Linked DNA regions of Homo sapiens: regions 1, 2, 3, 4 and 5 are each linked to region 6. The links are contacts of gene promoters, found by promoter capture Hi-C in blood cells and fetal thymus (Javierre and others, 2016). All regions are on one chromosome and are shown on one strand. The core of a region is centred on a gene start or on the middle of the fragment in contact, and the rest is flanking DNA. Distances in the headings are between cores, read along the strand shown.

Region 1 (3,729 bases), core at 998-3,497, 670 kb after region 6:
ACCAAGTGATCATCAAAAATAGTGGGCTCAATTCCTCAGAGTGTCTTCAGCTATAAACAATATGGCCTTTGCGGTGGATAGAAAGGATGGTCCAGCAACTCACAAGTCACCCTGCACTGTGACACCCAGGGACATCCTAGCCCATCTGTGGGCTTGTGTGTCAATGCACCCTGTGGCACACCTGTCAGACCACCTGCCAGCACACCTTCCAGTGCACCTGCCAACACATCTGCCAGAACGTCTACCAACATACCTGCCAAACCACCTGCCAACACATCTGTCTGTGCACCTGCCAACACACCTGCCAATAGGCATGGCCCTTGCTGGTTCTGAAAAGTCAGACTTAAAGGCAAAGAGAAAATGGAGCTGCTTCCCAGGGCTGCCTACCCCAGGAGGACACGGCCGAGGGAGACAACACTACCCAGCGCGTACCGTGCATCCGAGTGCTGAGATGTGTTGCTGTAGACTGTGGGAAAACACTCTTTTTCTGTTAAGTGAAACTTTAGAGGCCTTTAACCACGGAATTAAGACACCCACATGCTCACATAGAGGGACATGTATACAGTAGACAAGGGGCAAGTGAGTGAGGGCAGTTCTGTTCCTCAGGAGGAAGCCTACTCAGCCTTTGGGCAGGAGAGGCCCTGGTTTACTTCAGTGAATGAGCTTCAGGCTAAGGCTGGATGTCTTGGAACACCTCAATTTCACCCATGCCCCAAAGTCACACGTGCACTTATGCTTGAACTGCAGGGTCACAGGCTAGAAGGGAAAGAAGGGTTGTTATGGAGCCCAGTTGTTTTTCTTCTCCCAAGAGGAGATGGTCAGGGACAAGACCCACAGCTCTCCCTTGGCAGCATGGGGAGCCAGGACACAGGTGAGGCCGGGCCACTTTTGGCTTTTTCCAGCCTGTTCTCTGAGCTCACTGCAAGCCATTCCTTCTCTTGGCAACCAGGATTTGAGGACACATGCTTCCCTCATGGTTGTTTCTCAAGGGCCTCTGGGCTCCTTACCTATAACAGTAGTTGGGTTTCATATTAATGTGACTGTTGTCCATACCCACCCTGAGACCAGAGAAGGTGCCTTGGGCTCCACCTGGGACACGAGGGTTTAATACTGCTGCAGGGCGAATAGAAAGCTCCCTCTGGCTGGTGGGAAGGCAAAGCCACACCAGGCGGGTCTGCTTTGCTCTAGTAACTCGCTTATTCTCTGCCTTGACATGGGAGTAAGTGCATCCTTGGAGCACTCACTGTTCATGTTTTCAGAATTAGGGGCAAAGGCCATCTGCCTTACATGCACCCAGCATAGGCCACATGCGCAAGTTGTTCATAAACCCAGTCTGCACATCAGCAACTGCCTGTGTGTTAACAGGACACACCTGTCCCAATAGTTGCAACTAACATGTGTCTCCCTTGGTGTCTTCCAGCCTGCAATGTGTGGTACTTGAACTCTGTGGAGATGGAGTCCCTCACCGGCCACCAGGCGATCCAGAAGGCCCTGAGCATCACCCTGGTCCAGGAGCCTCCACCTGTGTCCACAGTTGTGCACTTCAAGGTGTCAGCCCAGGGCATCACCCTGACAGACAATCAGAGGAAGTGAGTGCCTAGAGGGAGGCAGGAGCCGTCCAGCAGGGGCGGGGCTGTCACGTTCCTCTTGTTCTTCCCTAGTGTGAGTAGTCATCCAGGTAAATCATTAGCCGTCTTTGAGGTCATGAGTCACCCAGGGTCTGTCTAGGTATTTTTCTGTCATTAAATACGTCCTGGGAACCACATAGGAACTCTTAGCATTTGTTTGCAAGGCTATTTTTCTTAGAAATCAGTAAAATAAAATAAAAAAAGACGTTTGGCGTTTTAAAATTACACACATACACACATAATTGCAAATGCAAAAAATCTTTTAACTCAGTTCCTTAAAAACACTCTGATACTATGATCAGAGTCCAATGATCTTGGAACCTATTGTTTTAACAGAGGGTCATTTCCTTTCAGGTGAGCGTATGACCTTGATATGTACTATTTCCGTTGGCCAATTTCAAATGACTTACGCCTGAGCTGTTACTGAGCCAGTTATGCTGGAGCAGATGTTCTCCATGTGGATCTTTACTGAATGCCCAGCATAAGCATGGAACAGAGCAGCCACAGGGCTGTTCCTGTCTCCCTCCCTCCAGAATGCCATCCCTGAGTGCAGCCTGTGGCCTAGGAACAGAGCATTTCAGATGCAATTATTTTGTATTGTGTGGTTGAGGAGGCACGTTGGCATCAACCGTGGCAGCAGCATGATGGCAGCAGCCATCACAGCAGACAGGCCGGCAGGGGACACTCAGACCAGCCTGGCTGCTTTCCCAGGATGCTCCCCGAGCAGGGCCCCCATGCCTCTCTGTGGTGCCCATGTCCCTAGAAGCAAGACATTTTCTTCATCTGCCCAAACCACCTGGGAGGTTGAAGGCAGGATCTTCCCCTCTGTAGCTTCAGGAATAAGTGAGTTTAGGCAGGTTTAGCTCATCACCCTTCATCTGCTGAAAAAAATGAGCACAAAGCAGAACGTGGGTTTTGCTGGTCAGACCCGTTCAGTGCCCCTGACACTGACCAGTAGATGACCCTGGGCAGGGTCCCAATGCTTGATGCTCTCGTATTTCAATCCTGCACCAAAATACCTATTTCAAGGTTTAGTGTCTCAAATGAAAAGGGCACTCAGCAAGTGCCCTGTGTGGCACACGCAGGGACAGGGTCAGGGTTGTGGCTCAACCCCACCATGTTCTCAGGGTCAGGGGCATGGCTCAGCCCCACTGTGTTCTCAGGGTCAGGGTCACAGGCAAGGCTCAGTTTCACGGTGGACTCAGGGTCAGGGACATAGCTCAGCTGTATGGTGGACTCATGGTCAGGTTCAGGGGGCATAGCTTTGCTGTTTGGTGGACTCAGGGTCAGAGTCAGGGTTGTGCCTTGGCTTTATGGTAGACTCAGGGTCGGGGCATGGCTCATCTGCATGGTAGACTCAGGGTCAGGGGCATGGCTCAGCTGCATGGCTCACCCAGGGTCCCAGTTGGGTATGGCTCAGCTGCATGGTGGACTCAGGGTCAGTGTCAGGCATAGCTCAGTTACATGGTGGACACAGGGTCAGGGGCATGGCTCGGCTACATGGCTCACTCAGGGTTCCCGTTGGGTGTGGCTCAGCTGCACGGTGGACTCAGAGTCAGTGTCAGGGGCATAGCGGAGCTACATGGTGGACTTAGGGTTTGGGATATGGATCATCTACCTGGTGGGCTCAGGGTCAGGCTCAGGGCATGGCCAGGCTGCTTGGTGGACTCAGGCTTACAGTCAGGAGTATGGCTAGACTGCCTAGTGGACTCAGGGTCAGGGTCAGGGTCAGGGGCATGGCTAGGCTGCATGGTGGACTCAGGGTCTGGAGGCATAGCTTGGCGACATGGTAGACTCAGGGTCAGGGTTGGGCTCCTTAAGGACCCTCACAATGTTGACTGTTCCCTCCTCCCTGCTGCCCTTGGAAGATATGTTATTTCTTCACAGGATCTGTTCTATGTGCCCTTGTCAGAGTTGTCTTTTTTCTGTGTCTCTTTAGTTTCCCTGTATTCTTTATATTCCCTGGAGATGGGTCATGTCCACATCAGTTCAGATCTTTCATACTGTAAGAGATAGCGTTTGAGTTCAGACTGGCTAATTCTAGACAAAAGGGGGATCTTCTCACCAACAATCAGCCTTAAAAGGCACCTGTTTGAGAGGG
Region 2 (3,684 bases), core at 209-2,708, 630 kb after region 6:
CCGCGCAGATAGTCACTATTAGTAAAATAGTGATAATTTATAAAGATAACTTATGTTTTCTGAACAAAGATAAAATGCATTCTGAGTCTCTGTTTATATTTACTGCAATGAGAGTACATCTTTTTGTTAACTGAGTGAAGGGTTTAAGTGAAGCTGAGGTTTCGAATTCTTACCTAACACAGGATTCCCAGTGTTGCATTCCTCATTGCTCACAGGACGCTTTAGAAATACTGGGTGAAGATGGCAACGCCTGGTTAGGGACCTGGTTAGAGTCTGACCAGTGATATTCTCTCAAAAGCAGCAGTCTTCCAGTTTCTGAAACTACATGAGAAACCCCCATTAGCTGCCTGTGGTCCCTGGCACATGGGCTGGTGGGCATAAGGGATGCAGATGCCCCGAGTGCCACAGGGGTTCTTAGACAGGCAGGTCCTTTAAGGGTGTCTTTGATTCTATTCAGGTCCATTGAAATCTGCCACATAGAATAAGGTTTTCAAGTCATGGTAAGAGACTTCTGAGATTACAGGGGAGGTTTCTCCCCCTGGGCCTTATGTGATTTAGACTTCCATGGTGCAGTCATTGATACAGTTTGGATATTTGTCCCCTCCATGGGGGCAGATACTTCATGAAGGGCTTGGTGCTGTCCTCATGGTAACGAGTGAGTTCTCACTGTTAGTTCACACGAGAACTGATTGTCAAAAAGAGCCTGGCACCTCCCCTCCTCTCTCTCTCTCTCTCTGTCTCTCTCTCTATCACTCTCTCACTCTCTCTCTCTCGCCTTCCTCTCACCATGTGATGCCAGCTTCCTTTCACAAGTCCAGTGGGAGTGGAGGTAGACAGGAATGCACTGGCATGGGGTGGTTAGGCCAGGGTGAGGGTGTGCAGAGTGCACATCAATGGAAGCTTCCTGAGGCCCTCACCAGGTGCAGATGCTTTTTCTACAGCCTTCAGAACCGTGAGCCAAATAAACCTCTTTTTAAAATAAATTGCCCAGCCTCGGTTGTTCCTATATAGCGGTGCACATGGACTCAGACAGTGGTTGTAGGACAAAATGATGATCCTGGACCAGGACTCCTCGGGACTTCAGCTGTTGAGCCACCAGGCTAAAGTGACCTTTCCTTAGAAGGGCTGTGGCAAAGTTCAGCACATGTCATCTGTGTCCCATGTGCCGTTTCTAAAGGAAAGCCAGATTCTCTGGGAATTCTGCCTGAAAACAGAAAACATCAAGACTTCCTGTCCTGTGGACAAGTCCAGTTATGAGACTGGAATTATTCTGCGGACTAAAGACTTGGAACCAAGCATCTTAGGTACAGCCTCTTCATTGGCATAGACCCTCGCCGGTATCATCTTGAGCTGCCTGAAGCTTTCTCTGACCGCTGTCCACTCCTGTGTGGACGTGGTGTATACATTATGGTAACCTCCATTCTCCATCATGATAATCAGCCCAGGGCTCTCAAAGCCTCTTATGCAGGTTCTCTCTCTGCTTGTGAAGGGCAATACTTCCTCTGTTTGTGGGTTTTTGTTTTTGTTTTGTTTTGGCTCAGCATAAGGAAAGCTTCCCTGAGGAGGGTCAGATGGCTCTTTTCTTTTCTGGTGCTGCTTTGCATACCCTCACCCTGGCCTGACTGCCCTGTGCTGGTGCATTCCTGTCTGTTTGCACTCCCACTGGACTGGAAGCAGCTTTGAGGCAAGGACATTGTGTCACTGAGTCTGTTTCCTGTTGCAAGTAACCAGTCCCAACTCAAACTGGCTAAAGGAACAAGAGAGGAGAAAATGTAACTGTTCGCAAAGTCAAAGGGTGAAAGCTATCGAGTGTCCAGGGACAGCTGAATGGATAAACAAAATGTGATCTATGCATGCAGTGGAATATTACTCAGCCTTAAAAAGGAAGGACGTTCTGACACGCACTACAACATGGAAGAACTTCAGGGACATTGTGTTCAGTGAAGTAAGTCAGTCACAAGAAGACAAATTCTGTATGATTCCACTTACATGAGGTCCCTAGAGTCATTGAATTCATACATACAGAAAGTGGGATGGTGGGGACTTGGGTGGAGGATAGGAAATTATTTCAATGGGGAAAGAGTTATAGTTTTGTAAGATTATAAAGTTCTGGAGATAGTTGGTGTACGAAAAAGTGAATGTACTTGATGCTACAGCACTGTACACTTAAAAATGGCTAAGATGGTAAATTTTGTTATGTATGTCTTATCACAATTTGAGAAAAATAACGAAACTCACTGAGCAGCTGTGGGTGGCTGTGGCCTCAGATTTGGCTTCATGAGGACTCCTTGGCCACTCAGCGGGTGGGTCTCTCTCTCTGTCTCTCTCACACATTTATTTCCAGTGACTCCCTAGACCCTGATCTTCTCAGCTGTGTGTTGGCTCTGTCTGCAGGCTTGATGTGGTCTCTAGGCAGCCTCAGTAGCTCCACTTCAGTGTCATCTTTCTTTAAAGTCTAGAAGGAAGGAAGTCATTTGTTTTCTTGAGAACTCAAACCAAAGCACATTTTTTTACAACTCTCATCCCTTGTAGGTTGCTAAGGGACTATGTGAGTCCCTGGAGGAACTGGCCTCACTTAGTGCATCCCAAGTGTAAAAACTGCTTGGGAAACACTCACTATGAAGAAAAACGCTGTTTTCACTGTTTCAACATTAGAATTCTCTACACAACACCAACTAAACTGGTAAATGTGTTTTCTTTCCAGTCTGATCAAAACCTTGAATATAAATGGGACATCTTCAAAGAATAAGAGAAAATAGGGCTCCAACTGTAATGAACTATTGCATCTACATTTTCTACTTCCTTTTGTGTTATTGCTTAAAAGGAAGACTGTGGCATGGTCTCTTTTGAAGGGGATAATTCCAATTGTGATGAGAATGTCATAAAAGGGTCACCCGGCTTTTGGTGGACAGGATTCCCATTTCAGCCCTGGCTGGAGCAATTCTGGCTTCACTGGGGGAATAAGAACCTTGCTTCCTTTAAAAAGACAGAAACAATTTATCCTTTTGAGAGCATTTCTCATATTTGCTGAAATCAGTTGACCTTAAGCTGTAGAACAAATTTCATATTATTTGTATTATGTTGACATCAGGATTTTAAAAAGAAAAGATTCAACACCAAGAAAGTATTTATTTATCCATTTGTGGGTTTTTCATCATTTTTGTTTGTTTGTTTGTATCTGTAGGACTTTGATTCTCATCGGAAACCATGAAAATGCTTTTCCAGTGTTGGGGTGGTCACTAATTAATTCTCATTATATCTGGCTGCCTGCCATTTTCTCTTTGCTTTCAAGAAGGTTGGTTAAATGGCCTGATTGTTCATAGACAAATAACAAAAGAATTATAGGATAATGACTTTTTTTTTTTTTTTTTTTTGAGATGGAGTCTCGCTCTGTTGCCCAGGCTGGAGTGCAGTGGCACGATCTTGGCTCACTGCAACCTCCACCTCCCGGGTTCAAGTGATTTCTGGCTAACTTTTGTATTTTGAATAGAGACGGTGTTTCACAATGTTGGCCAGGCTGGTCTCAAACTCCTGATCTCAAGTGATCTGCCTGCCTTGGCCTCCCAAAGTGAAGATAAGGACTTTAAAAAAAAAAAACAAAAACAAACAAACAAAAAAATAAAACTAATCACTACTGAGGAAACTCCAATACAAAGTCTTGCTTTTCTAAATTAGAATTTAAAA
Region 3 (4,237 bases), core at 988-3,487, 520 kb after region 6:
GCGAGGGGGCTGAGGGTGCTAGCTCAGGTCTCTCTTCCTCTTCTTAGAAAGCCACCAGTTCTACTCCTGTGATAACTGGTTAATCCATTAGTTAATTAATCCACAGATGTATTAACCCATTCATGAAGGCAAGGTTCCTCATGACCCAATCATCTTTTATAGGCCTCACCACTCAATACTGCCACATTGGAGATTAAATTTCAACATGAGTTTTGGAGGGGGCTAATATTTAAACCATAGCGAAGTTTTCTCTTTTTTTCGGTGATGGAATTCATCAGTTAAGTGATCAGGTCCTGGGCTTTTCTTTGTGGGAGAGTTTATATTACTGATTCAATCTCCTTACTTGTTATTGTTTTGTTCGGATTTTCTGTTTCTTCATGATTCAGTCTTAGTAGGTTGTATGTGTCCAGGAATTTATGAGTTTGTTCCAGGTTATCCAATTTATTGCTATGTACTTGTTCATAGTTTTTTATGTTTCTTTGTGTCTTAAATGGCATCAGTTATGATGACTGCTCTTTCATTTCTGATTTTGAGTTTTCTCTTTTTATCTTATCTAGGTAAAGATTTGTCAATTTTGTTAGTCTTCAGAAAACCCAACCCTTAGTTTTGTTGATCTTTTCTATTGTTTTTCTAGTCTCTCCTTTATTTGTTTCTGCTCTGACCTTTGTTTTTTCCTTCCTTTGCTAATTTGGGGTTTAGTTTGTTCTTTGTTCCTTCAGGTACAACATTAGGTTTTGTGTTTTGTTTTGTTTTTTGAGACGGAGTCTCACTCTGTCACCAGGCTGGAGTGCAGTGGCGTGATCTCGGCTCACTGCAACCTCCAACTCCCAGGTTCAAGTGATTCTCCTGCCTCAGCCTCCCTAGTAGCTGGGATTACAGGCACGTGCCACCACACCCAGCTAATTTTTGTATTTTTAATAGAGATGGGGTTTCACCATGTTGGCCAGGAAGGTCTTGATCTCCTGACCTCGTGATCCACCCACCTCGGCCTCCCAAAGCGCTGGGATTACAGGCATGAGCCACCGCGCCCTGCCTGACATTAGGTTTTTTTATTTGAGAGTTTTTTGTCTTTTAACATAGGCATTTATTGCCATAAACCTTCCTCTTACAACTGCTTTTGCTGCATCCCATAAGTTTTGGTGTGTTGTGTTTCAATTTTTGTTTCTCCCAAGATATTTCTAAATCTCTCTTCTGACTTTTTTTCTTTGACCCAGTAGTTATTTAGGAGTATGTTGTTTTATTTCCATAAACTTGTGAATTTTCCAAGATTCTTCCTGTTATTGATTTCTAGTTTCATACCACTATGGTCAGAAATGATACTTGAGGCCAGGCGCGGTGGCTCATGCCTGTGATCCCAGCACTTTGGGAGGCCAAGGCGGGCAGATCACCTGAGGTCAGGAGTTCGAGACCAGCCTGGCCAACATGGCAAAACTCCGTCTCTACTAAAAATACAAAAAAATTAGCTGGGTGTGGTGGCATGCACCTGTATTCCCAGCTACTCGGGAGGCTGAGGCACGAGAATCGCTTGAACCCAGGCGGTGGAGGTTGTAGTGAGCTGAGATCATGCCACTGCACTCTAACCTGGATGACAGAGGGAGACTCCATTAAAAAAAAAAAAAGAAAAAATACTGAATATGATTTCAGTCTCCTTAAATTCGTTAAGGTTTGTTTTGTGGCCTAACATGCCATCTATGCTGGAGAACTTTCTGTGTGCACTTCAGAAGAATGCGTATTCTGATGCAATGTTCTGTATATGTCTGTAAGGTCTATTTGGTCTAAAGTGCAGGTTGAGTACCCTGTTTTCTTACTGGTTTTCTGTCTAGGTGATCTGTCCATTGTTGAAAATGGGGTACTGAAGTCCCGTACGGTTGTGGTATTTCTATCTGTCCCTTCAGATCTTTTAATATTTGCTTTATAGGCCGGGTGCAGTGGCTCATGCCTGTAATCCCAGCACTTTGGGAGGCCGAGGCGGGGGGATCACCTGACATCGGGAGTTCGAGATCAGCCTGACTAACATGGAGCAAGCCCGTCTCTATTAAAAATACAAAAAATTAGCCGGGCATGGTGATGCATGCCTGTAATTCCAGCTACTTGGGAGGCTGAGGCAGGATAATCGCTTGAACTCGGGAGGTGGAGGTTGCCGTGAGCCAAGATCGTTCCATTGCACTCCAGCCTGGGCAACAAGAGCGAAACTCTGTCTCAAAAAAAAAAAAAAGAAAAGAAAAGAAAAGAAAAGAAATACTTGCTTTATACATCCATAAATAGTGCCACAAAAGTGATTGATAATGGGGTGAATGTCACCACCATGTGTGCCTGTTTTGGCTGAGGTGTTGTTTCTTTGTAGGTGAATTGCTGTCAAATATAGTTTTATGCAAGAGGTATACTAGTAGCCATACCATTAATAATTGCACGTGCCAGGATTCAGCTGCAAAGAGTGTATCAAGTGCCCGCATTGAGTATCTATAAGGCATGCTCTTGACTTTCACTGACAGAGAGAAGGATGCTCCTGGGTGACTTTCATGTATGACTGGGCTTATCAGAATTGTGACTTGAATTTGATCAGTAGTTTCTTCTCAAGAAGTTAGGGAGCTACATATTAGAGGCCCTGCCTTTTTGGCTTTATATGATTCCAGATCAGGGGTTGGCAAATATTTTTAAAAACAGCCAGATTAGGCCGGGTGCGGTGGCTCACGCCTGTAGTCCCATAGTCCCAGCACTTTGGGAGGCCGAGGCTGGTGGATCACAAGGTCAGGAGATCGAGACCATCCTGGCTAACATGGTGAAACCCCATCTCTACTAAAAATACAAAAAATTAGCTGGGTATGGTGGCGGGCGCCTGTAGTCCCAGCTACTTGGGAGGCTGAGGCAGGAGAATGGCGTGAACCCGGGAGGCGGAGCTTACAGTGAGCCGAGATTGTGCCACTGCACTCCAGCCTGGGGGACAGAGCGTGAGACTCCGTCTCCAAAAAAAAAAGAGCCAGATTGTATTTTACACTTTTCAGTCCCCGTGGTCTTGCTGCAAATACTCAAACCTACCCCTGCAGTGAGAGTGAAAGCAGCCCTGGATGTAGGTAAACAGATGGGAGTGGCCATGTTCTAGTCAAACTTTGTGTTTGGACACTGAAATCTGAACTTCAACACATTTTCACATGGCATGGAATCTTATCTTTTCAAAATTTTTTCTTAATAGTTAGAAAATGTAAAACTAACTCTTAGCTCACAAGTTGTGGGAAAGTAGGTAATGGGCAGAAGTAGCTCCTGGGCTGTGGTTTGCAATCTGCTGTTGTAGGTTGTAAGAGTATGTTCTAGAAGGTGGCACTCTGTGGCCCTGGGTGAAGGTGGCCTGTCCAATAGTTTCTGCTTCTCCTGCTGGTGTTGCTGGTCTGTGGGCTGGGCTGTTGGTGTCTGTGGTTATGGTTTGAGTGAGTCCTTTTCCAGAACTTCTGCCTGGGACAGTGGTTCCTTTATGTGTAATGAGGGTGGGCTGCGGCGGTGTATGTGGAGCTCAGGTGCCGGCAGTGCTGCCAGTAAGCTGGAATCTATGTCCCATCATGCTGAGCTGTGTTTGCAGCCCTGATCATTGTCAGCCCGTGAGCAGGCAGGCGTTCACTTCTGTCTGACCTGGATAATTAAGTCATGCTAATTGCTGCAGCTCCTGGCACAGTTTTTTCCAGCCTAATTGGGTAAAATGACAGGCAGCTGCTGTGTTGGTCAGCCCTCCTGGGCTTCTACAGCTGCTCCAGTTAGCACCCACTCTTACTGTTTGCACCCAGCGTGCGGGTTCCCTGTTGCAGAGACTCCAGTTGCACTGGGTACTGACTTTCCCAGACAGGAAGGCTGTGGGTAATGCTGGCCTTACCACCAAAGCAGGCTCTCTATTGTTTTGTCCACTAGTGAGTCTTTTCCTGTTCTAATTACATCTCTGCTGTGGGATTTCAGAGAAAATCAGCTGATCTTTTGTCTCCTGCAGGGCGGGAAAGGACGCATAGGAGTGGTCATATCATCCTACATGCATTTCACCAACGTCTCAGCCAGGTAGGATGAAGATGTCAGCTCGCTGTCTTGAGGTGCTAAAAGCTGGGCCTGCATGGGGCTGAAGGCTGTCTGCGCGGGAGCTGTTCTGGATACCAAGGGCTCGGCTGACCTGTGTTTCCCATTCCCCAGTGCTGGGTTGGTCAGTGCCTAGAAACCCAGTTTCCAGTTAAGCGTTTACACTTGTGAAAGTGGCATTTTCCAG
Region 4 (4,084 bases), core at 763-3,262, 750 kb after region 6:
GTGAGCGTTTATTGAGCACGTGGGTACCAGGCATTAGGAGGAGCACTTAGTTGTGGGTTTATCTACATAAGCCACAACATGCCAGCACACTACTCTCTCTATAGGGTCAAACACTATCTCTATCCTACTGATAGTGAGCTGGCCTTAGACAGCTAAAATGACTTAAGCATCTAGGGAATTAGAAGAAACTTCCTAGGAGGAGATTCTTGAAAGACAACATGGGTTGGTTCGATATAAAGTGGGTCAAGGTGGGGGCCAGTTAGGCAGAAGCGTAGAATGTGAGAAGCCATGAGCAAAGTGAGTTTATGCTACACACTGGGAGGTGAGCACTGGGGAATGGTGAGGGATGAGGCTGCAGATGAATCAGGGACAGATCTGAAGGGTCTGGCAGGCAGTTTGGACTTTAACCTGGGCTCTTAAACTGCACTAAGCAGTGGGGCAGTGTAATCAGAAGAGCATTGCAGCTGTCATGTGAGGAATGAATTGAAGCCAAGAATATGACTAGAAAGGATGACTGTATCACAATCATCCAGTCAGAAGAGTAAATTGGGCTGGACCAAAGATGTTAAAGAAACATGATAAACAAAGGCAGGGATGCCCAGGGATTGATCTAGTGCTTTTTGTCTGGTCAAGCAGCAGCATGGAAGTGCTGAGGGCTGAGTGGACGATCAGTCTAAGGGGATAGAGATGATGTGTTTTCTTTTAGATATGTTGAATTTTCAATACCTGGGGGACTCTTAGTAAGGAGTTGGAAATGCTATTTGGGAGTTGGGGAAGGAAGGCTGTACAGAAGACACAGGAGGTTGGTCATTAACACGTGGTGGTGGCTGATGCTAGGGAGGTGACAAGGCAACTAAGGGAGCATGTGTAGCCTATGTAAAGGGAGACAGGAAGGCCACAGGGGAAGCCTAACATTTTACAGCAGAAGGAGAGTTGCTAGCTAAGGACACTAGAAGGAAGTGGTCACAGACTTGGGAGAAATCAGAAGGATGTGTGTGATCCTAGCCAACAGGGCCCTCAAGAACTGCAAAGAAATCCTTCTCTTCAGTGGATATATAATTTCTTTCTTTACCCCCACTGGAGGTATTCCAAACACTTTACTTACTTCCCACACTCCCCATCTGTCCTAGTTGGCTTGGGCTGCCATAACATAGTATCATAGGCTGGGTGGCTTAAGCAACAGAAATTTATCTTTTCACAGTTCTGGAGTTCAGATGACAAGATAAAGGTGCCATCGTTGGTTTCTGGTGAGGGCTCACTTCCTGGCTTGTAGACGGCTGCCTTCTTGCTGTGTCCTGACATGGCCTCTTCTCTGTGCATACAGGGGTGGTGGAGAGAGTACCCTACTCTTTTTCTCTCTTCCTATTCTTATAAGGCCACCAGTCCTAGCAGGTTAGGGACCCACTCTTAGGACCTCATTTAACCTTATTTACCTCCATAAAGACCTTATCTCCAAATATAGTTATATTAGGGGTTAGGGCTTCACCATAGGAATTTTGGGGGAACACAATTTAGTCCATTATACCACCCAGCTCACTCAATTTTTGTAGAAGGTCTCACCAAGAGATTTGTCAAATAACTGTCGAAGGGATGTAGGAGGAAATAATATCAACTGCAGAGGTGAGTGGGACTAGCCTAGAACATGAGGATCCTGAACTCCCCAAGACAGGAGGGAAGAGAAGACGTGAATGAGAGCAGGGACAAAAAATGAGAACAGAGAGAAGGGGATGCAAGGGGCTTTCACGTGGAGTGACACATTGTAAATGACTTCCTCTACTCCAGTGACTTTTTGAAAATTAATTTCCTAAAAATTGTGCTTGTATTCCCTCCCCACCTCTATTTTTAGCCATCCATTGCAGTAGATCATTTATGCTGTGAAGGTCTATTTTATGCCAAGTTCTGTGATTGAAGCTTGGGGAGGAACATGTGCCTCAGACATAGTTTCTCCCCGTTACAGTTTCACTGATTCTTTGAAAGGGGGCTTAGACATGCAAAATAAATTACAGTATGGTGTAACTGGCCCTGTAATACAGGTGTGTTTTAAAATCTATTATAAATAGTTGTTCAAAGTCTAACATGAGTGACATGTGGTATAATAAGCAAAGAAAGCTTTGCAGGCTGCCTCTCCCTCCTGTTTGTCTGTTTGTGCCTGTGTAGAAACTGAAGTGATGCAGCTTACAGAACTTCCAGGAAAGCTTTTGATTTTGAATTAGACTTATTTCAGGGGCCTCATTGAACTCTCATAGGCTTTTGGCTGTCATCTGCTAGTGAAATTACTGAAGATCATGAAAGCTTATTTTAAGGTGCCCAGCACACCCAGTGATCACAGATTCTGGGCATGGGGGATTGAGTGCTCTGAACACAAGTTAGTAAGCATGGCAGACTGCATGGAAGGGTACATTTCAACTGTGTCTTGAAGCATGAGTACCTTACTAAGACTGAGATTTGAAATCAAGTATTCTCTGGCACCTTGACCTTAGCAAAAATGGGACTACACTCCCTGAGGTCCATTCCTGTGATAAAATTCCTATGAGGCATGTTGAAATATTAACAGGAATTCACCTATTCTGGAGTTTCTCGGTGGTTGGTGTGCCCACGGACAGTGTAGATCAATAAGTATAAACAAACTGGGACCCGTTTTTTGAGTTTCTTCTTATTAACAATACCAGTTTTTTTTTTTTTAAATCAGGACTTAAAAAGATTAACAAATGAAGAAACACAATAAACAGATGATTGATGATAATTGAATCATGTCTATGGAATTAATTCCTACAGTTGACATTCAGTGGGCTCTTCTGTCAGGACCCCTGGACATCACTGACAGCAAGGGGCCTGGGGTCTGGGAATCCTTGGGCCTGTGCCAACCCAGAACCGGTCCCAGGCCTTTGGAAGGCACGGCCACTGCCGTTGTGGCTGCTCAGCCGAGTGCCTGAAATCCTTCAGACATAATGGAGCATCTGCTTGGACCCATCCTTCCCAGGAAGCTTCCAGGCTTCCCTAGTGGTCAAAATGAAGATTACAGGAACATGCTGTGTCTGTTCATCCAACACTTGAGAACCTACCTGCCAACACAGCTCCCACTTTTCTACGCACATGAGTAAAAAGAAACTACAAATTTAATGTTAGCTTTTGTGGACAGTAACGCTTATAGGAATGGGATATAGCCCCTCTGGTTTAGCCGGAATGTGCAGTCTTCTAGGCTGCTCAGCCACTCTGAATGTAACATGCCTTGAGAGTCAATTTTGTGACTTCGTAAGGTCTGTGAGTTCACCTCTGTTCCGCACAGCACTTTACCACCCTACCTATAATGTTTTAAATCCGTGGAAAGAAAAGTATCATTTTGATTTAAGAAATGCACGTGTGGGGAAGGACACTGATATATCCTGAGAGACTAGCAAACCCTCGTACACACCCTACACGCTGTGCCAATAAGTTTTAGATTTCCGTCTTATTTTGTCCACCTTCACGGAAATGTAATTTTTTCCATGTGTCAGATGACGAAGGCCACATCTTTCTGTTTCAAAACCATGAGTTTTTCCCACATCAGAGCCAGCCAATAGGATAATGGTGTCTAATTCTCTTTTTAAGCCACATTGAGACCAACAGATAGCATCAGTTAGGGTTAGGTTTGGCTGCATATAAAAGAAACCTGAATGCAGTGGTCTAACCAAATGGAAAGTATTTTCACCCATAAGATAAGTCCAACCCATAAACTGCTCCAAACCCACAGATAAGTTCCTTTTTGGCTTCAACCATGTTGTTCTGTGATTTGCAATTTTTGAATGTATTACCACATTTTAACAAAAATCATATATCATATAGAAATACACATTGTTAGGCTCCTTCCCGAATAGCAGCTGTTGGCTGACGCTGCCTAAGCTGTGACTGCCCGTTCAGCTCCTGCATGGCCCTATAGTGACCATCCATCCCTCCTCTGTCACGCCAGTGCTGAGAATGAGGGTCTTGGCCAAGTACCTCCTAGCTGCTGCCCTCTGAGTCTGCAGCCTCTGGCTTGTGCTCCACCATCTGTATTCATCTCCCAAGACTGCAGGAACAAAGTACTGCCAAACCGGTTGGTTTGGGA
Region 5 (4,053 bases), core at 260-2,759, 710 kb after region 6:
AGAGGTGAAGTGTCTTACACAAAGTTACCCAGTTTGTTGTTCATGAATGTGGTTCAAATTTTTGGATATTTTTTACCTTAAGGTTACTGCCATTGGAGCATTCTGCCTGCCCACCCCCCAGCCTTCTGGTAATCAGTAGTCATTGCAGTACTAATTGTAATAATATAGGTAAGTGCGAGATTTCTCTGCCTCATGAAAAAAATTTGGGAAACTTTATTCGTAGAATAATGTATACTGGCACAGTTGGAGCAAACTATGTGTATCTTAAGCATAACTCAAAAGGACGTATTTGACTAAGCCTTTTATAAGAGAAAAATCCCTTCTCCCACTGAAGACTGTACAATGTCTTAGCTCATAACAGGACATAGAGGTATTACAGGAAGTTGTAAGTCTGCCAGTAAGACTATGCTTTAAATTCAGAGTAGTTTTGAACATAGGAGATATATCTTAGGTTTTTTCCCATGTCAGTTTTAACAGATCAGACAAATGTCAAAATTGTGTAATCTACAGGTCATCTAAAAAAATTATTGCCTATGTATTTATTTAGTCAGTGCGCTTACTAATTATCTAGTGCTGTATTTTCTACTAGGCACTAGGGACAAAATGGTGAGCAAAAGAAGATGACACTATTTATACCCTCATAGACTCTTAGGAACTGAATGTTTGTGTCCCTCCCTGCACACCCCTAATTCATATCTTGAAGCCCTAACCCCCAGCATGGCTGCACAGTTGACCTTCAAACAGCATGGGGGTTAGGCGTACTAACCACTGCACAGTTGAAAATTTGCATATAACTTTTAACTCTCCCAAAAACATAACTACTAAAAGCTTACTGTTGACCAGAAGCCTTACTGATAACATAGTTGAGTAAGACACTTTTTGTATGGTTAAATGCATTACATACTGTATTCTTACAATGAAGTTAGCTAGAGGAAAGAAAATCTTATATGAAAAGCATAAGGAAGAGAAAATATATTTAGTACTCATTAAATGGAACTGGATCATTATAAAGTCATCATCCCTATCATCTTCATATTGAGTAGGCTGAGGAGGAGGAAGAAGAGGAAGAGGAGCAGTTGGCCTTGCTGTCTTAGGGGCAGAAGAGATGAAAGAAAACCCATGTGTAAGTGGACTCACACTGTTCAAACCCGTTTTGCTCAAGGATCAACTGTATTTGGATATGGGGTTTCCAAGGAAGTAATCCAGGTTAAATGAGGTCCTAAGGGTGGGGCCCTGATCTGATAGGATTCATATTATAAAAAGAGATGCCAGAGAGCTTTCCATCTCTCTTCCTCCACATTAGCACAGAGGAAATGCCATGTGAGGACAAAGGATGAAGGCAGCCATTTAGAAAGAGAGCCCTCACTAGAACCTGACTGCACTGGCCCCCAAATCTTGGATTGCAGCCTCCAGAACTGTATGAAAAATAAATTTCTGTTGCTCAAGCTGCTCAGTCTGTGTTATTTTGTTATAGTAGCCGAAGCTAACGAACACATGGACTTACAGTCTAGTGAGGAGGGCTATGAGAATGGGCCAGGAGAGTTGAGAGGCCAATAGAAACTTGAACAGCTTTCACTATTACTTAGATAAGAGGCAATTAGGATGAACGCAGTTGGAATATTTTTGAGATAGATTGTCTTCTTCTCTTCAACCTATTGGGGAGGAAACTGAGGACCAAGCCAAGCACTAAGAAGTAGCACAGTTCAAAGCCCATTGCCTTTGCACACTGTGGTTCTTAGAGGAAAAAAGATTGCATTTCAGTTGACTATAGCAGCTACATCCATCATTTCTTCTCCTTTTTACCCTCCAATTCCATCACATAATTCTCATTATATTTGTCAGGGTACAAATGTCCAAAAATATTCCCAACAATCTTTCCTCCTAATGTGTTTCCTTATTAGTCTTTTTTACTTTATTAGAAATATATGAAATGTTTAAACTAGTGAAAATAGTCAACACTTTGATTGTCAGAAACTCCAAGTAACAAAGAATTCTAAACATCAATGCACCCAATACAGAAAGAAAACTGGAAAGAAAAATTGACTGTTCAAAAGCAAACACCATCTAAATTGTGGCTTACTTTGGCACAGAACGAGTTCATGCTGTGATTCCTTTAAATACTTTTCACTTGCAAGGCTGGTTCAGTTTGCTGAACACAACATCACCTGATCAGAAGCCATGTGAAGCTTACTTACAAGGGCAGATAGATGGAAAGGTGGGAATTTTCTGGTCTAATATTATTTGTGTTAATGGGAACTTGAATGTTTTTAATTGTTCACTTCTCATGTAAGCCTATTTTACTTTTCAAATCAAGATGCATTCTTTGTTGTATTTTGAATATTTCTTTGATTTCTGCAATTGATGTTTTAAATCTACTCAGCTTCCTGTTCCACATTGAAAGTACTTGAAAATGAGCACACGAGAGTATCAGCGTAGGTCTTGCTAAGTCTCAGTAAAACATGCATAATCTATATTTCTAGTTGAATTTAAAGTCCTTATAGCCAAACATATTTAATACATCTTCTAACTCAGGGATCAGCATCAGGCCCAATCCAATCCACTATTTTGTTAAATAAAGTTTTCTGGGGCACAGTTACGCCCATTCACTTACATCTTGTCTGTGGCTGCTTTTGCACCTCAGTGGCAGAATTAAATAGTTCCTATAGAGACTGTATGGTCCACAAAGCTCTCATCCTTTACAAAAAAGGTTTGCTGAACCCTGTTCTAACTAGAAACATTTGAGAAAAAGCAAGAGAATCTGAAGGCCACATAAGAGTGGCAGCTCTTTTCCAAATGTCTCCATTACTGTGTAGAGTCTTTACATACTTTAGATCATTTAATTGTTTCTTAGAAGAGTTCTGTTGAGTGGTTGTTATTAGTCCCATTTTACAGATGAGCAGACAGGCATAGGGTATGACCCAGCCCAAAGTTATCTAAACAGTATGTGGCAAAGGCAAAATTAAAACCAGGTTTTTCTGGTTTCAAACTTCAAGTCTGTACACTAGAATACAAGAAGGCCTTCTATGGGTATTGTATGGACACGTTTCCGAGTTTACTGTGGGAAGAGCATGGATGTTTTTCAAACCATTTTCAGTGGGATGACATGCACCAGGAGATGTCAGTAGTGTCCCACGAAGGGAAGATAGTATATGAACATGAGACACTGGTGTGGGCACCACACTTACTAATTAAGCTCTAAATTTATATTATATCATATATTGCATTTCAGAATTTCAACACATACTTGTGTTAGTTTGCTGGGACTGCCTTAACAAAGCAACAGAAATGTATTCTCTCAGGATTCTGGCCGATAGAAGTCTGAAATCAACACGGCAGCCTTGTTGATTCCTTCTGAGACTGTGAGGGAGAATCGGTGCTGGGTCTCCGCCCTAGCTTTTGTGGTTTGCTGGCAATCTTTGGCATTCCTTGGCTTGTGGTGGCATAACTCTGACCTTCACAAGGCATTTTTCTTGCCTCTATGTCTGTTTCCAAATTTCTCCTTTTTATAAGGACATGGTCATATCGGATTAGGGCCCCTTAGGGTGGGCTAAGGACCACCCTAAGGTCCTCATTTGAACTTGATCATCTGCAAAGACCCCATTTCCAAATAAGGTCACGTCTACAGGTACTAGAGTTAGGACTACAACATCCATGGGGAGGACACAATTCACATCCTAATGCTTATTTTTGTGTATAATCTAAAAATCATACTAAGCAACTACATTTCAGTAGTTTCTTGCAGCCATTTATTTGTGGGCCCTTTAGGTGTCTGTTCTGAGCATTTATTTACCTCTTTGCCTGAGGTGAGGGATGGTGACAGTTCCTAATATAGGTGGCTCCATGGCCTCCTCTCCTTGCTCCTAAATACCACCCTTCCTTTGTCCTGTTCATTCATTCATTATTATGAAATAAGGAATTGCCCTGGAATCGATTACTCTGGAAGCACTGCTTTAGGGGGATGAAGCCCATCCTCCCCCTTTGGCTCCTCCCCAGCCCTTCCTATTAGTTTTCTGTGTGTTCTCTGGCATTTGAGGGTGGTCCAGGCCCTTCCCC
Region 6 (4,123 bases), core at 898-3,397:
TCAGCCTCCTGGATAGCTGGGATTACAGGCGTGCATCACCACACCTGGCTAATTTTTTTGTATTTTTAGTAGAGACGGGGTTTCTCCAGCTAATTCTTAATTCTATTTAATTGTAAGTAACTTAAGCTCCAGTAGCTGAGAGTGGCTATGAGAGTGGCTATGAGAGTGCCTCCCACGTAGGGCAGTGCAGGCATATTTCTTCCCTCAATTATGTCACTTTCTTTGCTCCTCCTCATTTCCTGGCATCTTTGGTTAGCACTGCTGGCTTCAAAAACATCACAAACTTTAAATGTAGGCCCTGTTCTCAGGATGTCCAGCCCCACAAGGAAGGAACAGGCAGCAGCAAGGTCAGAGCATCCAGGTGTGCGTGTGGGTATGGATGCCAGCCCAGCAGGCAGGGTTGCACAGGTGTCTTTACCCAGTGGACTCTGTTTAGATTTGACAGGAAGGTGTCAGAGCAAATCACAGGGGCTTCAGAAAGAAGGGATTTTGTTCGTTTACAAACTGCAGTTTGCAGTTTATCCTTTTCTTGGTCACAGGCGCATTTGAAAGTGTATTGCTAATGAAATTGGAAAGTATGCATTTCCCCCAAATCTGAGATTTACTCACAACAAGCACAGTGGGGACAAAGCCAGAGGCACTGACAAGGCAGTGTGAGAAGAGCAGAGGTGGCAGCAGGCCCCAGGAGACAGGTGTGTTAGGTCAACAGCAGGCCCCTTAACCCACCACAGGGCTCTGGTTACTCACCTCATTGGCAGCAAAGTTCCAGAAAACACAGGATCCAAGGCCGGACACCCGTAGCTTGGTTCATCATTGTTCAAGGGGTCTGTGTTCCCATCTGAGAAAGAGCTTGTGCCTGAAAACGTTCCCACTCTTCTTGGTATCACTCTCTTCAGAGTGGAGAGAAAAAATATCTAGTGTTCTGAGTAAAACATTAAGTTTTCTAAAATCTCTGAAGGTTTAAATGTTGGTATAAAGAACTAAGACAACTAACAAGTGCTTTAAAAATATAAGAGAAAATGTTTCGTAATGGAGAGAACTCAGTCTGACCCGCCAGTTGCAAACAAGGAGAGGTGCAGGAGGTTCGGAACCAGATCATTCCTAGGTTCTGCCGTAAGACAGAGTGCGCCTAGTGTGTGCCTTGCCAGCCTTCCTTAGGAATGCTCTTCTGCTCTTGTGGAAGGTATCCTGTTCCCCAGTGCAGTTGTGGACAGTTACAGCTTTTTTTTTTTTTTTTTTTTTTTGAGACAGAGCCTCGCTCTGTTGCCCAGGCTGGAGTGTGGTGGCACGATCTCGGCTCACTGCAACCTCCGCCTCTCGGTTTCGAGCAATTCTCCTGCCTCAGCCTCCCGAGTAGCTGGGACTACAGGTGCGTGCCACCATGCCTGGCTAATTTTTGTATTTTTAGTAGAGACGGGGTTTCACTATGCTGGCCAGGCTGGTCTCGAGCTCCTGACCTCGTGATCCGCCCACCTCGACCTCCCAAAGTGTTGGGATTATAGGCGTGAGCCACCGCGCCCAGCCAACAGTTACAGCTTTTTATTCTCAGACTTCTCTCAGCTTCCATGTACAGTCTCTCCCTTGAGTAGTGATCTGTTTCAGGCAGCCACAAAGATCCCTACCTAAAACACACTTTTGTTTTGTTTTGTTTTGTTTCATTTTGTTTTTGAGGCAGAGTCTCACTCTATTGCACAGTGGTGCAATCTCGTCTCACTGCAACCTCCACCTCCTAGGTTCAAGCAATTCTCTCGCCTGAGCCTCCTGGGTAACTGGGATTACAGATGTGTGCCACCACACTTGGCTATTTTTGTATTTTTAGTAGAGACGGGGTTTCACCATATTGGCCAGGCTGGTCTCAAACTTCTGGCCTCAAGTGATCCACCCACCTTGGCCTCCCAAATTGCTGGGATTACAGACATGAGCCACCACGTCTGTCAAAAGCACACTTCTTAGGAAGGAATTTGTCTGACAGTGTTAGGAAAACAAAAGCTGTTTCTGCTTGGGAAAATGTTACTGGAGTTTGGATTTTTCCCTCTGTGTTTGATGTGTGTCCTGATAAGAGGTCACAAGTACAGAAGCTGGAAGCATTAAGCTCTATTTCTTTGTCTTCCAGAGGATGTAGGAAGAAGCTGGTCTGCTGACTGTCATACTTGTGACCAGCTTGCACAGGACATGGCCGAGGAGGCAGCCCAGAACATTTCTGATGACCAGGAAAGGTGAGTTATCACTGTTCTCAGAGGGTTTGGTAAGCTTGATTTTAAAGTATGCATTCAGAAATTTTCTTTCAAAAGTCATCACCTCTAGGATGTGGGCTCACTCTGGCACGAGTGGAGGCCCTGTACCAGGAGGGTGCATTTGGCCGGCGGGGTCAGTTCAGAGGTTGGAGTTGGTGTTGAGAATGGAGTTTTTTCCTGAAGGCTTTTGAGAAGACTCCTCCAAGCGGATGCCTTCAGCCATGAGAAGTGCTGATTGCTCTTCCTGCAAATGCAGGATACCTTCCAAGTTCGAGGACTTTCTGCTGCCTGGTAGTAGACAAAGTTAAGCTATCTGCTTGTCTGCTAGGTCCCTTGCATGGAGACCAGGAGAAACCTGGCACAGGAAGAGATCATGGGGTCTTGGCCCAGGGGTCTTATTTCTTTTTTTTTGAGACGGAGTCTCTCTCTGTTGCCCAGGCTCGAGTGCAGAGGTGCGATCTTGGCTCACTGCAAGCTCTGCCTCCTGGGTTCATGCCATTTATCCTGCCTCAGCCTCCCAAGTAGCTGGGACCACAGGCGCCCACCACCACGCCCGACTAATTTTTTGTATTTTTAGTAGAGACGGGGTTTCACTGTGTTAGCCAGGATGGTCTCGATCTCCTGACCTTGTGATCTGCCCGCCTTGGCCTCCCAAAGTACTGGGATTACAGGCATAAGCCACCGCACCCAGCCTCCATGGGTCTTATTTCTAAACCCTCTTCCCCATGCTCTGTGCGCGCCAGCACCCATGTGTTGTTGAGGCTGGGCAGCCTGTGTGCTCTGCTGTTGACTGTCTCATGGCAGTGTGACATGGTGCAAACCTCCATGCCCCCTTTCCTGGGCGTGAGGCCAGCAAGGTGACCTGCCTGTGGGATGTGGTAAGGACCCAGGTGGGTCACCGCTGTCCCCTGGCCTGGCATGATGGGAGCCTGTGCCTGCAGATCTTGCCCAGTGGGGTACCCCGCCACTGCAGGTCACTTTACCTCCTCACCCCCAGATTTCTCATCCTGAAAATCTGAGTACCCCTGTTGTCACATCTGTAAACTCCAGAGGGTCGTTATAAAAATCAGTATCCTTGATGAATGCTTGCTGTCAGCATTTCTGCCTTTGTTAGCTTACTGTCTTTGTGCCATCACCATCATTTTATCAAAGAAACCCAAAGCAAACCAGGATGAGAAAATGAGGCTGCACGTGTTGACGGGGTTGGTCACATTCATGCTTGGAAATTTCTTTGCCTTATGTCACTCACTGCTGCCAAGCATTGTCTGATTTTGGCTACAATTTTTTCCCTTATTTTTTCTGGTTACCTCATGTTTCTTTTATTCCAAATGCCCATGCTCCTGCAGACTCCCAGAGCCTTGATGTTGGCCCAATTTGACCTTCACTCTTATCAGTCAGGGAATTGCAAGGAATTACCCCTTTGCCCTTAGAAAGGAAAGAAAAGCTGAGGAGCGGAAGTCGCTGACTTGATGTTTTTTCCCCTGTATATTTATACATCTTGTACTTGCAGACCAACTAGTTCATGCACGCACTAGCCATTGTAATTGGTGTCGAGGCCCCATTTCTGAAGTCATAGCCTTTTGGGGTTTCCTGAGTCACCTAAAGCAAGACAGTGACTGATCTTGTTCATAGAAACAGAAGAGGTTTCTTGACTCTCCTGTAGCCCTCATTTCATGGAGTTAGGCCTGTAGTGTCTGTGTGTGTGTGTGTGGTATAGGACATGTGTGTGGGTGGTGTGGTGTGTGGTCTGTGTGTAGTGTGTGGTGTATGTGTGGTATGGTATGAGTGGGGTATGGTGTGTGTGTGATACATGGTGTGTGCTGTGTGATGTGTGTGTAATGTGTTGGTGTGTGTGTGGTGTTTGTGTGTATGGTGTGTTTGTGTGGTGC

Evidence for each region. The method cuts DNA at HindIII sites, captures the fragments that hold promoters and counts their contacts. A CHiCAGO score of 5 or more calls a contact.
Region 1: a fragment that was not itself captured here is called in contact with the fragment with the promoter of PKD1L1 in region 6 in 2 of 17 cell types (total B cells and naive B cells); the score reaches 12.2 in total B cells.
Region 2: a fragment that was not itself captured here is called in contact with the fragment with the promoter of PKD1L1 in region 6 in 2 of 17 cell types (naive B cells and total B cells); the score reaches 7.8 in naive B cells.
Region 3: a fragment that was not itself captured here is called in contact with the fragment with the promoter of PKD1L1 in region 6 in 1 of 17 cell types (total B cells); the score reaches 6.4 in total B cells.
Region 4: a fragment that was not itself captured here is called in contact with the fragment with the promoter of PKD1L1 in region 6 in 2 of 17 cell types (naive B cells and total B cells); the score reaches 6.2 in naive B cells.
Region 5: a contact is called between a fragment that was not itself captured here and the fragment with the promoter of PKD1L1 in region 6, in 2 of 17 cell types (total B cells and naive B cells). The highest score is 8.5, in total B cells.

What each region holds. Positions count from the first base shown.
Region 1 is chr7:47,281,557-47,285,285 of GRCh38, reverse strand. TNS3 (tensin 3) reads left to right here. Exons shown (of 31, transcript NM_022748.12): 28 at 1,421-1,589. Among named protein-coding and RNA genes, the nearest start is that of SNORD151, 180 kb to the left of the region's middle. The HindIII fragment of the contact is 9,538 bases long and covers 1-3,729 here.
Region 2 is chr7:47,316,468-47,320,151 of GRCh38, reverse strand. All of the region lies in intron 20 of TNS3 (tensin 3), which reads left to right. Among named protein-coding and RNA genes, the nearest start is that of SNORD151, 150 kb to the left of the region's middle. The HindIII fragment of the contact is 192 bases long and covers 1,363-1,554 here.
Region 3 is chr7:47,428,110-47,432,346 of GRCh38, reverse strand. TNS3 (tensin 3) reads left to right here. Exons shown (of 31, transcript NM_022748.12): 9 at 3,971-4,035. Among named protein-coding and RNA genes, the nearest start is that of SNORD151, 35 kb to the left of the region's middle. The HindIII fragment of the contact is 8,256 bases long and covers 1-4,237 here.
Region 4 is chr7:47,194,712-47,198,795 of GRCh38, reverse strand. No RefSeq gene overlaps it. Among named protein-coding and RNA genes, the nearest start is that of SNORD151, 270 kb to the left of the region's middle. The HindIII fragment of the contact is 198 bases long and covers 1,914-2,111 here.
Region 5 is chr7:47,232,280-47,236,332 of GRCh38, reverse strand. No RefSeq gene overlaps it. Among named protein-coding and RNA genes, the nearest start is that of SNORD151, 230 kb to the left of the region's middle. The HindIII fragment of the contact is 1,358 bases long and covers 831-2,188 here.
Region 6 is chr7:47,946,490-47,950,612 of GRCh38, reverse strand. It overlaps PKD1L1 (polycystin 1 like 1, transient receptor potential channel interacting), which reads left to right and starts at 2,147. Exons shown (of 57, transcript NM_138295.5): 1 at 2,147-2,216. The coding sequence starts at 2,173. The HindIII fragment of the contact is 5,981 bases long and covers 1-2,252 here.